2 separate regions of the Homo sapiens genome follow, and region 2 is linked to region 1. The links are contacts of gene promoters, found by promoter capture Hi-C in human tissues and cell types (Jung and others, 2019). All regions are on one chromosome and are shown on one strand. Each heading gives the region's core, a stretch centred on a gene start or on the middle of the fragment in contact. The rest is flanking DNA. Distances are from core to core; before and after follow the strand shown.

Region 1 (7,555 bases), core at 3,698-6,197:
ATAACATGTTGTCACTAATAAGTAGGTGCTAAAATGTGTTTACATAGATATAGAGGGGAGAACTATAGACACTGAAGCCTTGGAAGAGTGAGTGGGTGGGAGGGAATTAAGAGTTAGACATTAATTAGTAAATGCAATATTTGTTATTCTTGTTATGGAAACCCTAAGGCCATGATTTAACCATTATGCAATGTATACATGTAACAAAATTATCTTTGAACCACATATATTTATAAAAATAAAGTTTAAAAATAAATTGAGGGTGACCGGGTGCGGTGGCTCACGCCTGTAATCACAGCACTTTGGGATGCCGAGGCGGATGGAACACGAGGTCAGGAGTTCGATACCAGCCTGACCAACATGGTGAAACCCCGTCTTAACTAAAAATACAAAAATTAGCCAGGCATGGTGGTGCATGCTTGTAATCCCAGCTACTCAGGAGGCTGAGGCAGGAGAATCGCTTGAACCTGGGAGGCGGAGGTTGCAGTGAGCCGATATCTTGCCACTGCAGGCCAGCCTGGGTGACAGAATGAGACTCCATCTCAAAATAAATAAATAAATAAATAAATAAATAAATAAATAAATATAATTGAAGGCAAATTTAAGCATATTTTTTCAAAAAAGAAAAAGAGGGAGATGGAGTAGGAGAAATAAAAAAGAAGGAAGAGGAGGAGGAGGAGGAAGAAAGAGCCTGCATTTCTAATTGTCATAATTAAATTTCCATAAGCAGATACTATTTTTTTTAAAAAAAACCTAATTAGAATTTTACGGGTCTGATAAGAAAGAAAATGCTAAAAAAAATATGAATACTCAGTGTGTTCCTATTTTGTTTGAAAGCCTAGAAAAAAACAATATCAGAGACTATTCTACTTAGATTTTTTGGACAAAGAAATCTTAAGATTTTTAACTCGGGAACATTTAATTCCTCACAATTTCATGTCTGCTGTTCTTTCCTAAAATCATTATTGTGAAGCAGACATGACTATATCCACTAGTGTTTCATGTATGTGATCTGCTTAGTCTTCATCCTTTAGGGGAGCCATTTTGATTATTCAAAAATTTAGAAGAGGAAACTTAGGCTCTGAGACTTAAGTAGCTTCCTATGAGTCCAGAGTTAGCAAGACATAGTTCTTAAACTGCAATCTGAGAGATTCCAAATTCTTTGCCCATTCAAGTCAGGCTGCCTCTGATGAAATCCATTTAGGTTTTCTTAAGAATAGTAAGACTCATAGGCAGGGACAGAACTGATCAGTGATAAAATATGGGAAAATAGGTCTAGTGGCTTCTGGGGAATAGAGGCATAGAACCATACTCATTTCCCTAGAAAACAAAATCGGTTACTTTTGAACTTGTTAAAATTTCTCTCAGCTTCTGGGATTTTCTTTCATTGGTATTGTTTTGCTTACATTCATAAGCTGACTAGAATATCAAGAAATGACCTGAAAATAATTGTACAACTTAAATTCGAGCTATAGAAGACAGAGAAGGAAAGAAACAGTGGAACTCCTTCCCCAGGTGGATGACTTAATAAGGATAAGGAGGAGAGAAGCTTGCTGGAAACATCAAGGAGAAGGGGTCCTGGATATTCTTACAATGTGAACATGGGTCTCAGATTCTAGAGTCCCAAACACTCAGAAAGAGACACCACCAGCAGAAATTGCAAGCTGATTGTTTTATTGGTATACTGAAGTTAGAGCATGATGCCATGTTTCACGGCATTTGAAACACTGTTATCTTCTTATTCACTTCCTGAAAAAGACAAGCAAACAAGGAAGATTACAGACAACACTTGACATGGCAGGAAATGTCTAATCCCTCACTGGGGGTTACTGCAGTGATGGAGATGCAAGCCCCTACTCTTGCCCTCTATCCCTTCTACAGCCCCCTTCTCCTTAGTAATATTTTCTTTGTTCACTCTTTAAGCCATTGCACATAATGTGATTTAAAGTGTTGCTTAGATGAGAAAGAGAAACAATTATTGTTATGTGTTCATGCTTTGCTGCTGTTGGTTATGTAAGGGCTATTTTTACAAAGATGGGCACTGCAACATATCATATAATAGTGAGAATGTGAATCCAGCCTTAATATCCAGTGACAGGGATTGGTTAAATAGATTACGGAACAACCAAACAATAGAATAGTATACAATTGTAAAAACAAACTAACCAATAAACACTGAAGAGATCTAAATGAACTCATGAGAAAGTTTTCTAAACAATAAATTTTTCCAGTGAGTAAGACACAAATCTGAATATACAGTATGGTATAAGTGCTTGTAATAAAAGCATTATATATATTTATGTAGCAATATATATTTCAAAAAGTAGATTCCAAAGAGTAAAAGGTGGGGGTTTTGAGAAGGATAGAAGGGAGGAAAGATGAGTTAGGCTCTTACTATTTAGCTCTGTACATTTCGGTTCAGTGAGATTAGTTTTTGTTAGCTTAAGCATGTATGACTTTAAATGTAAGTATACTAAAAATGAGATACCATTTTACAACTGAAAGTTCAAGGACCACTTAGCAGGAATACTGGACCTGAAAGCCTGATGTGAGGCAGGACTGAGCAAAGCATGTTCAGGTGAAAACTTTAAATGGGAGTCTGAGTTTGAGGAAAGAAAATAGAGAGAGCCAAAGGGGGAACATGGTTCTATGTCCTCATTGTCAACCCTACTTAAGACATGTAATTTGAAGATAGTGATTCTCAAAATCAGAATTGCCTTCAAGAGCTTCTGTAAAACACAGGGTCACAGGGTCTTGATACTCTATACAAGAATATCTGAATAACAATTTTTAGAAATGTGTTCCAGGACAGGGCAATATTAACAGGTTTTCAGAGGATTCATTGGCACAATGAAGTTGGAGAACTGTAGCAGTTGGAGCCTTTGATGGATAATAAACTGGAATCGTACCTGTCATTGAATCCTAGATTACTGAGGAGACTGCCCCTGTGGAGGTCCTTGTGGGCGGCCCCCTTGGGGAGGTGGTCCCTGGGGCTTTCCAGGAGGAGGTGGGGGAGGACCTTGCTGATGGCCTCCCTGTTGGGGTGGTCCTTGTGGCCTTCCTCGAGGAGGACGGGGATGGCCTCCCTGTTGGGGTGGTCCTTGTGGCCTTCCTTGAGGAGGAGGGGGATGGCCTCCCTGTTGGGGTGGTCCTTGTGGCTTTCCCTGAGGAGGTGGTGGACCTTGTTGCTGCTGGCCTCCTTGTTGGGGTGGTCCTTGTGGCTTTCCCTGAGGAGGTGGTGGACCTTGTTGCTGCTGGCCTCCTTGTTGGGGTGGTCCCTGCTGAGGGCCATCATCCTGGTTCCCATCACCAGCAGAGGGTTGAGATTGCTGTCCTCCCAAAGGTGGTCCCTGACGCTCCTCATCTAGGAACTGCTCAGAGTCTCCTCCATCTGTGTGAGTTGAAACAAGAAGAGCTGAGCTCATGCTGGAAAACCCTCCTGTCTTCATACCTCTCTGTCTTCACCACACGGCCGGCCCCTCTCTGCCTGACCTGCCTCTCAACTCCCAACCTCCCCCCTTCCCAAGGCTTCCTAATTAGAACTCCTCTTAATCCACATAAGGGTGATGAAAAATTGAATTTCTTTACTCATGGTCCCCAGAATCAAGGTTGGGAGAAAACTGTTTGTATCTTTGGGGCATTGGTATTAGCCAATTCCTGACAAGAAAATGGTGATAAGAAGACACTGGAGAACTCATCAATTTTTCAGGGAAAAATGGAGACAGAGTTTACTGAGAATTTATTGGGATTTACCTGATATTACGAGGGGAACATCTTCCTGGCTGACATCTAGAAAAGAAGTACAGGATGATGGGAAAAGTTACTTCCTGAATCATTCAAGGCTCATAGTGTTCTACGAGGATAAAGGACCTCTGATCACACCCTGTGCATCCCCTTTGTGATCTCATCAGCCACTCTCTGATGCTACTGGAAGTGGAAGAAGATGTAAGGGAAAGCAGTATTGTTACTACACTGAGCGTCAACCAGGAACTCAACATAGAAGGGCCCCTGTTTGTCCTCTTTTGATTCCCCAAGCCTTGATGAGGAATGAAGATACAATAGGTCTTCTGATCCTCGGCATGAAAATTCTGCAGTCCCATCTGTTTTCTCATCCTCCTCTCTTCCCTCCACTTTCCTCCTCTATAGCATTTGCCTGTAAACCCTTAGCGCTTATTTAGTTAAACTGCTCTGAGTATTTCAATGACATATTTGGGGATTCTTCTGCCCTCTTTCATCTGTAAATATGTTGTTTATGTTTGCAAGCCTTCTCAACAGGAGCCACCAGACATAGCCACTTGGATATAATCTTACGCATGCCATTCCCAGCACATTGAAATACTACATTCAGGAGACAGAAAAATGACAATGTTTCACTCTGGTTATTCTCTAACTCTATGTAGACAGAGACAAGTGTTTACCCAATTCTCTGCCTCGGCAGTAGCTCTGACATGTGTTTATCTCCTTCATTAATGCTCATCCACTGTACAGCAAGGCCACCATCATCCCTGTCTACTGGGATCAGTACAGGATCTTCACAGCTGTACTTCCCTGAATCTGTCTTGCATTCTCCACATCCTTCACAGCAGTCCCATGTCTCTATATAATGCAAATCTCACTCTCTCACACCCCTAGTACGAATTCTTTATTGGATTCTATTTGTGCAACAAATAAACTATGAGGCCTTGATGAGGAATGGAGGTACAATAGATCTTCTGATCCTCAGCATGAGAACTCTGCAGTCCCATCTGTTTTCTCATCCTCCTCTCTTCCCTCCACTTTCCTCCTCTATAGCATTTGCCTGTAAACCCCAATCAGAGTCACAATATCTTCCCCCAATTCATCTTACCTTCATTTAAATCCTGAGCTGAGCTGAAGGCCAGCAGGGCCACTGACAGCAGAATCAGAAGCATCTTGCAGGAGGCTCTGGTGTCACTCCCAACTTTGTGCTGGGAGAAACGTGTCAGCTCCCTTTATAAAGACAAGCAGGACAATGGTGCATTTGAGCTCCCTACCAGGTGGGCCTCCTCGCCTCAGAGACTGGCTTCTGCTTTGCTTACTTCAGGTCAAGTGTATCCCTCATTTCTTTTGGGACTCTAGCTCAGCAGGAAGGGTTGGGTAGGATATTGTTTGTGTCTAATTCCTAAAAGGCACAACTATGACTTGGACAAATGTTTTGACGGAACTGTGTCCAAGCAGTCGGCACAGTGTCAGGATTGAACTTTAGACATCTTTTGGTTTTCAATCTGTTTGGAAAGACTGCTATTCTGCTTTTCACTGTGCTTTTCATTTCTGTGTATGTGAGTTTGTGTGGGTGTGTCGGGGGGTGGACACTGATCCTACAGCTAACAGTGAAGATGGTCAATATCTCTGACTGTTTTGATAGCCTCTTTCCATCTCTCATGATGTGTGTGCGTGGATATTTTCACATTTAGCTAAATTTTTCATGTAACAGAGATGGTCTTGCTTATCTGTGAGATGTGTGAGGACAGCACACTCCCAGGCACACATATATGAGAGAAAGGTGCTGGCAGCCTGCTCAGGCTACAAGAATTGTCCAAACTTCTGTGAATCTCACTACACTCAGGCAAGCCTTGGTGCTATACAACACAGGCAAGCTAAAATATTTGTATTTTAAAAATATCTTTAGGGTTTATTAAAGCAAAACTGAACTCAGAAACCACCAAGGAATTTCTAGACCTGAACAAACTGAATATATGGTTCCCTAAGTGAGCCACACGATGTCATATAGCTAAGACCTCCACTTTCTCCAGAATATTCCATAGAATTCATCCTCTACTTTATTTCTTCTAATAAATATTGTAATTGTCATCACTGATAATTAAATGGCCACAATTATACATTCATCTAAGATAATTTGTAATACCTGTCCAAGCCTCAATTGCCTTGATTGGTCTTCTGCTTTTACTCAGTAATTATGTCACCTGTTTCATCAGAGTGTTCTTTCTCACCAAGGATTTTTATCTGTAATATTCCAATACTCATTCTTTCTCATTCTTTTTCTCGCACTTATTTGTTGAAATTTTGTATTCTGAGTCTACCTTGCCATGTTTACTTTTCGTCCTATATCTTTTTTTTTCTCCCTACAAAGGTGTCCTTTATTTATCCTTCTAAGTAAAGGTGTGTGGTACTCCTCACTACCTTTACTTTCATTTTTGTCTGTATAATTTGACAATAAAAAATTAAGTTTCCAAAAAGCCCTGTCAGGGTCCTGGTTTGGTAGCTCTCTCCTCAGCTGCTGATTGCTCCAAAAATTAAGTTTCCAAAAAGCCCTGTCAGAGTCCTGGTTTTGTCGCTCTCTCCTCAGCTGCTGATTGCTCTGTGATACCTAGAAATTCCCTGCTCATCAATTCATAAAATATACTACTCAGAATCACCAGCTGCACTTTCCATTTCAGACCTTGAGTAGGTCTTGTGTAATTTTTCACTTTTTGTGCATGGTTAGTCTTTATTTGAGGATAGCTTGGTTGGAGGCATGGCTGAGAAGCCAGGTGACAGAAAATCATAAAGACAAGGCCCTAGACAGGTGTGCATGAGTGGATCCTGTGCTGGGCATATGAGGGTCTGGTATGGCTCTTCTGAAAAGTTGCAGATAATAATACAAGAAGGCTTCCTAGTAGATTAGATTTTGCTACAGACGACATTGTTCTTGTAAGGGACCCAGGCAGATTGGTATTTTCCCTGGAATAAATATAGACCTATTTCAGGGGGGAATGCATTCTTAATTGGCAATTCTTCTCTGGCCCTGTGGGAAGTAGATCAGCTCTAGCTGGGCCGTATGAGTTGTATCTCAGGCACAGAGTAGTTGCTTGAGCCCAGCAGCTCCCAATGCGTTATGGAGATTATTGTCTCTGGTTTCACCAGGTACTGTTTCCCATAGGACCTGGAGATGAGCAGTCCTGCCTCGGTGACTTCAGGTCAACCATCATGTCAAAAAGGAAGGTCAGAGAAAAGGAACAAAGAGGAGTGCCAGGCAGATATTGCCTGATGATGTGGGGGACTGAGGAAGCTGCAGGCCTGGTGCAAGACAGGTTTCTCCTTGGCAGCAGAGTACAGGAAAAGAACAGGAAATCCTCCTAAAGGTCACTCAGCTCAGGCCTGCTCCCTAACCTGCTCCAATGTCAGCAATCAGCGAGAGACTAGTGTATCAGGAAAGCATAAATATCAGCTATGCTCTCACTAGACACATCAAAAACAGAGGTAATGGAAGAGCTGAAAGGGACACTGTCTGTGAGTGAAGGTGGGTGAAAGGGAGACGCAGGACTGCTGCAGGAGCTTGGGTACCTAGAGGTGGGTGGCAGCCCTCAGCACCACACTTGCCTTCTACTATAGATGTTCATATTCTGAGGCCCTGAAGGGCCAGTCTTCAACATATGAAATTTTAGGATTCATCTCTCATAACACATCCCAACATTTTCTCGGTCACTGACAGGTGTTTACCTAGTGGTTCAAAAATCCTCGCTCCCTCCAGGAACTTATGCATTAGCCGATCTAATTGCCTCCACTTTCAAAATACGTCCCAAATATGACCACTTGC
Region 2 (7,317 bases), core at 331-2,830, 94 kb before region 1:
TGTTAAAACTTATCATTAATGTTTAAACAACATAGGAGCATAAACAGAAAAAGTCTTACTGACTTCCACCACAATTTCATTTCCAGAAATACATCACTAATAACATTTTTGTCTGTAATTTGAAATATTTTCTGAACACAAATCTGTCTCATATATATATGCATATATTAGGTTGGTGCAAAAGTAAGTGATGGCAAAACTGCACTTAGTTTTACACCAATTTATATTAATGAAAATGAAAGAAAAATGGTCACTGCTATTAATAAAAATGAAAATGAACACACTACTGCTACATTCAACAAAATGCTGAGTGAAAAAATCATTATATATATGTGTATACATATTCCTTTTATGTAGAAATGGGATCATGCTAATCTTTGTTTTTATTTAATAATATAGTTAGGATATAATTCCATATGCATGCCACACATTTATATCTCCTGAATTCTTTTTAATAACTGAATTATATATTTTTTGTATTGGTGATCTATAAGTTATTTAACAAATTTGATGAACATTTATATTGTTACCAGTATTTTGCTATTATAAGCAGTGCTGCAATAAAATTTCTTATTCATTTATTTACCTATTATGCAATAATAGTTGCAGGATAAATTCTAAGACTGAGATTTCTGGATAAAACACCAGGCACACTTTACATGTTGATAGTTTGTACAACTGGTCTTCCAAAAATTGCATCAATTTGAACTCCCCAAAGGTATAAGAGAATGGCTGCTTCCTATATTCTTACTAACAAAGTTTTAAACAAATTATATAGTGTACACAAATGTATATCATGTAATTAATAATTTTTAAGTAAATATTGTTAAAATGTAATATACCTCTAGAAAAATGTACAAATTATAACTATGCAGATTTACAGATATTTATACAGCAAACACATCTATGTAATGCAGTCCAGCTCACTAAGTCATACACGAATATTTTACATTATATTATAACACTCCAAAGGAATCCCTTGTACTGTTTCTCAGATACTACTCTCCACTGCCTGTACACATATCTTTCATGTTGATTAGTTTTACTGTTTCAAACTTTATGTAAAGTGTAACAATATAATATTTACTCTTCCCAGTTCAGTTTCTTTCACTCAGCATTTTCTATGAGTATGGTAGGAGTAGTGTTATTTTCATTGCTATATAATATTCCATTCCATGACTATACTACAATTTACTCATCTATTTTCCTGCTGACAGGCATATGAGTTATTTCTAATTTGGGCTATTTCAAATCATACTGTTAATAATCATACACATTTTTTAGTGCACATATCTTACATTACTGTTGTGTCTATTTCTGGAACAAAAATTGCTAGGTCATAGAATATGGGCATGTTTGGCTTTAGTACCTACTGCCAAATCTTTTTCCAAGTTGTTTGTATTAATTGATACTTTTCACCAAATACGTCACCCCTGCTGATTTCACATTTAGAAAATGGCATCTCCTAGCTTTAGTGTACAATTCCTTAACTTTATGTGTCATATATTATTGTTTTTTATGTTTATTAGGCAAGCCTGAATTTTATTTCCTTGTGAATAACTGTACCCACCTCTCTCTACTACCTGGATACTTCTATAAAATAAAATACAGTCATGCATTGTTTAATGATGGCAATACACCTGAAAAATGTGTTGTTAGGTGATTTTATCATTGTGTGAACATGATTTAGTGTACTCACAAAAACCTAGGTGGCATAGCCTACTACACACCTAGGCTATATGGTGCAGCCTATTGCTCCTAGACTACAAACTTGTACAGCATGTCACTGCACTGAAAACTGTAGGCACTTGTAACAGAGTTGTATTTGTGCATACTAAGCATAGAAAAGGTATAGTAAAAATATAGTATAAAAGATTAAAAAACAATACACCTATATAGAGAACTGTATTAGTGTGCTCTCACATTGCTAATAAAGACATACCTGAGACTGGGTAATTTATAAAGAAAAAGAGATTCAATAGACTCACAGTTTCACATGGCTAGGGAGGCCTCACAATCAAGGTGGAAGGTAAAGGAGGAGCAGAGACGTCTCTTACATGACGGCAGGCAAGAGAAGTGCCGAGCAAAAGGGGGAAAAGCTTCATATAAAACTATCGGATCTTGTGAGAACTCGCTCATTATCACGAGAGCAGCATAAGGGTAACTGCCCCAGTGATTCAATTACCTCCACCTGAGCCTGCCCTTAACACATGGGGATTATTACAATTCGAAGTAAGATGTGGGTGGGGACACAGCCAAACCATATCATCCCGCCCCCTCCCAAATCTCATGTCCTCACATTTCAAAACCAATCATACCTTCCCAGCAGTCCCCCAAAGTCTTAAGTCATTTCAGCATTCACTCAAAAGTCAACAGTTTAAAGTCTCATCTGAGACAAGGCAAGTCTCTTCCACCTAGGAACCTGTAAAATTAAAAGCAATTTAGTTACTTTCCAGATACAGTGGCAGTACAGGCATTGGGTAAATACACCCATTCCAAATGGGAGAAATTGCCCACAGCATGGGGCTACAGGCCCCATGCAGGTCCAAAATCCAATGGGGCAGTCAAATCTTAAAGCTCCAAAATGATCTCTTTTGATTCCATGTCTCACATCTAGGTTATGCTGATGCAAAAGGTGGGCTGCCACAGCCCTGGGCAGCTCCGCCTCTGTGGGTTTGCAAGGTACAACCTCCCTCTTGACTGCTTTCACAGGCTGGTGTTGAGTGTCTGCAGTTTTTCCAGGTACATGGTGCAAGTTGTTGGTGGATCTACCATTTTGGGGTGTAGAGGATGGTGACCCTCTTCTCACAGCTCCACTAGGCAGTGCCCAAGTGGGGACTCTGTGTGAGGTCTCCAACCCCACATTTCCCTTCCACACTGCCTTAGCAGAAGTTCTCCATGAGGGCCCAGCCCCTGCAGCACACCTCTGCCTGGACATCCACGCATTTCCACACATTCTCTGAAATCTAGGTGGAGGTTCCCAAACCTCAATTATTGACTTCTGTGCACCTGCAGACTCAACACCACATGGAAGCTGCCAAAACTTGGGGCTTGTACCCCCTGAAGCCATGACCTGAGCTGTACCTTGGCCCCTTTTAGCCATGGCTGGAGCAGCTGGGATGCAGGGCACTAAGTCCCTAGGCTGCACACAACAGGGCGGCCCTGGGGCCAGCCCCTGAAACCATTTTTTTCCTCCTAGGCCTCTGGGCCTGAGATGGGAGGGGCTGCTGCAAAGGTCTCTGACATGCCCCGAAGACGTTTTCCCCATTGTCTTGGTGATTAACATTGGGCTTCTCATTACTTACGCAAATTTCTGTAGCAGGCTTGAATTTCTTCCCAGAAAATGGGTTTTTCTTTTTTACTGCATTGTCAGGCTACAAATTTCCCAAACTTTTATTTTCTGCTTCCTCTTGAACCATTTTGCCACTTAAAAATTTCTTCTTCCAGATACCCTTAATCATCTCTCTCAAAGTTCCACAGAACTCTATTGCAGAGGCAAAATGCCACCAGTCTCTTCGCATAGCAAGAGTGACCTTTACTTCAGTTCCCAAAAGTTCCTCATCTTCATCTGAGACCACCTCAACCCGGACCTTATTGTTCATATCGCTATCAGCATTTTGGTCAAAGCCATTCAACCAGTCTCTAGGAAGTTCCAAACTCTCCCACATCTTTTTGTCTTCTGAGTACTCCAAACCTCTAGGAAGTTCCAAACTTTGTCACATTTTCCTGTCTTCTTCTGAGCCCTCCAAACTGTTCCAACCTCTGCCTGTTACCCATTTCCAAAGTTGCTTCCACATTTTCGGTATCTTTACAGCAGTGCCCCACGACCTGGTACCAATTTATTATATTAGTCTGTTCTCACGTTGCTAATAGACATGCCTGTGACTGGGTAATTTATAAGGAAAAAGAAGTTTAATGGACTCACAGTTTCAGGTGGCTGAAGAGGCCTCACAGTTATGATGGAAGGTGAAGGAAGAACAAAGGCACATCTTACATGGTGGCGGGCAAGAGAAGTGTTGAGCAAAAGGGGGCAAAGTCCTTTATAAAACCATCAGATCTCGTGCGAACTCACTCACTATTACAAGAACAACATGAAGGTAACCACCCCCACGATTCAATTACCTCTACCTGGACCTGCCCTTGACACATGGGGATTATTACAATTCAAGGTGAGATTTGGGTGGGGACACGGCCTTTCCATGAATGGAGAACTTACCATCAAGAACTTACCATGAATGAAGCTTGCAGGACTGGAAGTTGCTCTGGGTGAGTCAATGTGTGAGTGGTGAGTGAATGTGAAGGCCTAGGATATTACCGTACATTACAGTAGACTTTATAGACACTGTATGCTTAGGTTACATTAAGCTTATTTAAAAAATTATCTTTTCTCAGTAATCAATCGACCTTAGCCTACTATGAATTTTTTTATTGATCATTTTTTAAACTTTTTGACTCTTTTGTAGTAACACTTAGGCTAAAACACAAACACATTGTACAGCTGTCCAAAAATATTTTCTTTCTTGATATCCTTACTCTATAAGTTTTTCTTTTATAAAAATTTTTATTGTTTAATTTTTTTTATTTTTTAAACTTTTTTGTTAAGAACTAAGACACAAGCACACGCATTAGCCTAGGTCTACACAGTGTCAGGGTCACAAATATCACTGTCTTCCACCTCCACATCTTGTCCCACTGCAAGGTCTTTGGGGGCAATTACAAGCATGGAACTGCCATCTCCTAGGATAACTGCGCTCTTCTGGAATACCTCTTGAAAGACCTGCCTGAGGTCTTTTTACAATGAATTTCTTTTTTTTAAATAAGCAGAAGTTACACTTAACTTTCTTTTTATAAGTAGAAGTATACTTTAAGATACTGATAAGAAGTATAGTAAATACATAGAAGTATAGTAAATACATATACCAGTAACAGTTGTTTGTTATTATCAAATATTATGTGTTATAAAAAACTGTGTGCACTATAGTTTTATACAACTGATAATGCAGTAGGCTTGCTTCCACCAGCATCATCACAAACAGGTGAGTGATGCATTGTCCTATGATGTTAGGATGGCTGCAATGTCACTAGGCAACAGGAATTTTCTGTTTCATTATAATCTTATGGGACCACTGTTGTGTATGCAATCTGTCATTTACAAAAATGTCATTATGTGGCACATGACAATAATTATATTTGTAGTTTTAAATTTTTCATGAGATGTAACTAGTTTGGACTTTTATTTTTATTGATTTGCTCTTTCAGTCTTCATGTGACTTTCTCAGCTAGGAAAATTTTTTTCTACTAATCTTTCATTTTTGCTTCTGTGCCAAATTGTCTGTATGTTGGCTGCCCATTCTCTGTTCCTTTCTGTTATTGCATTACAATTTTTATGCTATGTTCTTTCCCACTGCATTCTAGAAACATATTTATTATAATAATAACTAGCATTAATTTTGAGCATTTACTAAATGACCTTTTCATATTTTGATGCTGTCTTCATGAGAACCCAAAAAGTGAGCTCTATTACCATTTCTAATTTATACACGAGGAAACTGAGGCCAGATTAGACTGAGTAATTTTCCCAGGTTTATGTGACTAGGAAGTGACACAGTCACGATTTTAACCCAAGCAGGCTGGCTTTGAATTGTTGACTTGTAATCAACATTCCACTGCATACTGTCTGTCCTACATATTTACATAGTCCACAACACATGCTATTTGATTTTCTGGTGAATATTTTTTGCCTCTTTCTGCCTCTACTGTGGATTTCAGTTGTGCTTTTCTAGTTGTACTTTCCATAAAAGCTTTCTTGTTTGATCCAATTCTACTTTTATATCATAATGTTCTCTTCTGCAGACTTTGTGCTACTCATTCACAATGCCTGCTATTCATTCTTAATCTTAATTAACTTCTTCTTCTGTTGATGTCACTAAGTACTTTCTGATAGCATCCCCACCCTGGGCTCCTTGATTTTTTCTGTATCTTAAACTTTGGTTTTCTCAGGGGAGTCTTTAACTGTCTTCTTCCTTTCTTGTCTAACTTACACACTGGGGTTTATTTCATTCACTGCTACGGCTTTAAGCACCTATACATTTGTGACTCAAAAGTAAATATTTCACCCCAAGCCGAATCCTGAGCTACACAGCAGTATATTTATTCCTGTAATGTTGGTTGAACACCTATTTTCCAGGTGCATGTGAGACACTAGAAAATTCCACATGACTGTTATCCAGCAACCTTAAGCTTTTCTCCAAATCTGCTTTTTTATTCTTTTGATTACCCATCTTGGTGAATTCTAATGTTGCTAGTTGTATAAACCAAAATATAAAATTAATCCCAGAAAACTCTATTTACTTGCCTTTTCATTCTGTCATCTTTATTCTACTTCTGGAATATCTCATTTAGTATTTCTCTTCATTTGAATTATCACTGTGTATTTCTTGGGGGAATTGCAGTAGTCTACTTTGTTCTCAACAGTCATAAAAGTCATCTTTCAAATGTGGCGCTCTAATGAGCTTACTCTTTGTGTGATATATGTTAATTATCTCCCATTCCATAAAGTATAATTAATACCACCACCTTTGCATGGCACACACAACTTTTGTCATCTGGTTTTATCATTTGGTCCCTGCCTACATATCCAGTCTTTTCTCCTTTCACTTCAAATCTTTTCTAACTTAAGACACTGTAATTCAGAAATACTGAACTATATTCAAGGTCTCAAATATGATATGTCCTTTCACTCTTTTTGTTCCTTTACACATTTCCTGAAATACACTCATCATTCAGCTATCTACCTGATGTTTAACTGTTAATTTATTACTTCTTTGGAAATGCCATGTTCTTTATGAAATTTTCTCTGATTTCCACAGGCAGACGTGAATGCTCCATTTACTGCTGATGATTTGAATTTGTATGTACTGGCCTAATGGCACTAATCCCATTCAGGAGGACTCCACCTTTGTGATCTAATCACTTACCAAAGGTTTCACCTCCTAGTACCATCATATTGGGGTAGTATTTTAACATAAGAATTTTGAAAGGACAGCAACAGTGAGCCATGAACACAATGCTGCACTTCAGTCGCCAGCCTCCTGGGCAACAGAGTGAGACCTTGTCTCAATAAATAAATAAATAAATAAATAAAATAAAAAATAGTGACTAGTCCTATAAAATAAGGAGTCATGAAAATAAGGAGTTGTGCTTCCCAGTCTTCTTGTTTTCTTAACCTCTAGTCATCTAAGCAGCACACATAAAGTTTTGCATTCCATCCCAACAAGGAGTCTACTGCAAGAATGATTCCTGTAGATGTGACAGTTG

Evidence for each region. Contacts are between HindIII fragments. The study calls those that stand out against the background at their distance.
Region 2: a contact is called between a fragment that was not itself captured here and the fragment with the promoter of PRH1 in region 1, in 2 of the 25 tissues and cell types used here (small bowel and spleen).

The regions. Positions count from the first base shown.
Region 1 is chr12:10,879,308-10,886,862 of GRCh38, forward strand. It overlaps PRH1 (proline rich protein HaeIII subfamily 1), which reads right to left and starts at 4,948. Exons shown (of 4, transcript NM_001393989.1): 1 at 4,847-4,948; 2 at 3,754-3,789; 3 at 2,910-3,391; 4 at 1,658-1,749. The coding sequence starts at 4,910. The coding sequence ends at 2,928. It overlaps PRH1-PRR4 (PRH1-PRR4 readthrough), which reads right to left. Exons shown (of 10, transcript NR_037918.2): 5 at 4,847-4,968; 6 at 3,754-3,789; 7 at 2,910-3,391. The HindIII fragment of the contact is 11,699 bases long and covers 384-7,555 here.
Region 2 is chr12:10,788,754-10,796,070 of GRCh38, forward strand. No RefSeq gene overlaps it. Among named protein-coding and RNA genes, the nearest start is that of TAS2R7, 10 kb to the right of the region's middle. The HindIII fragment of the contact is 8,880 bases long and covers 1-6,020 here.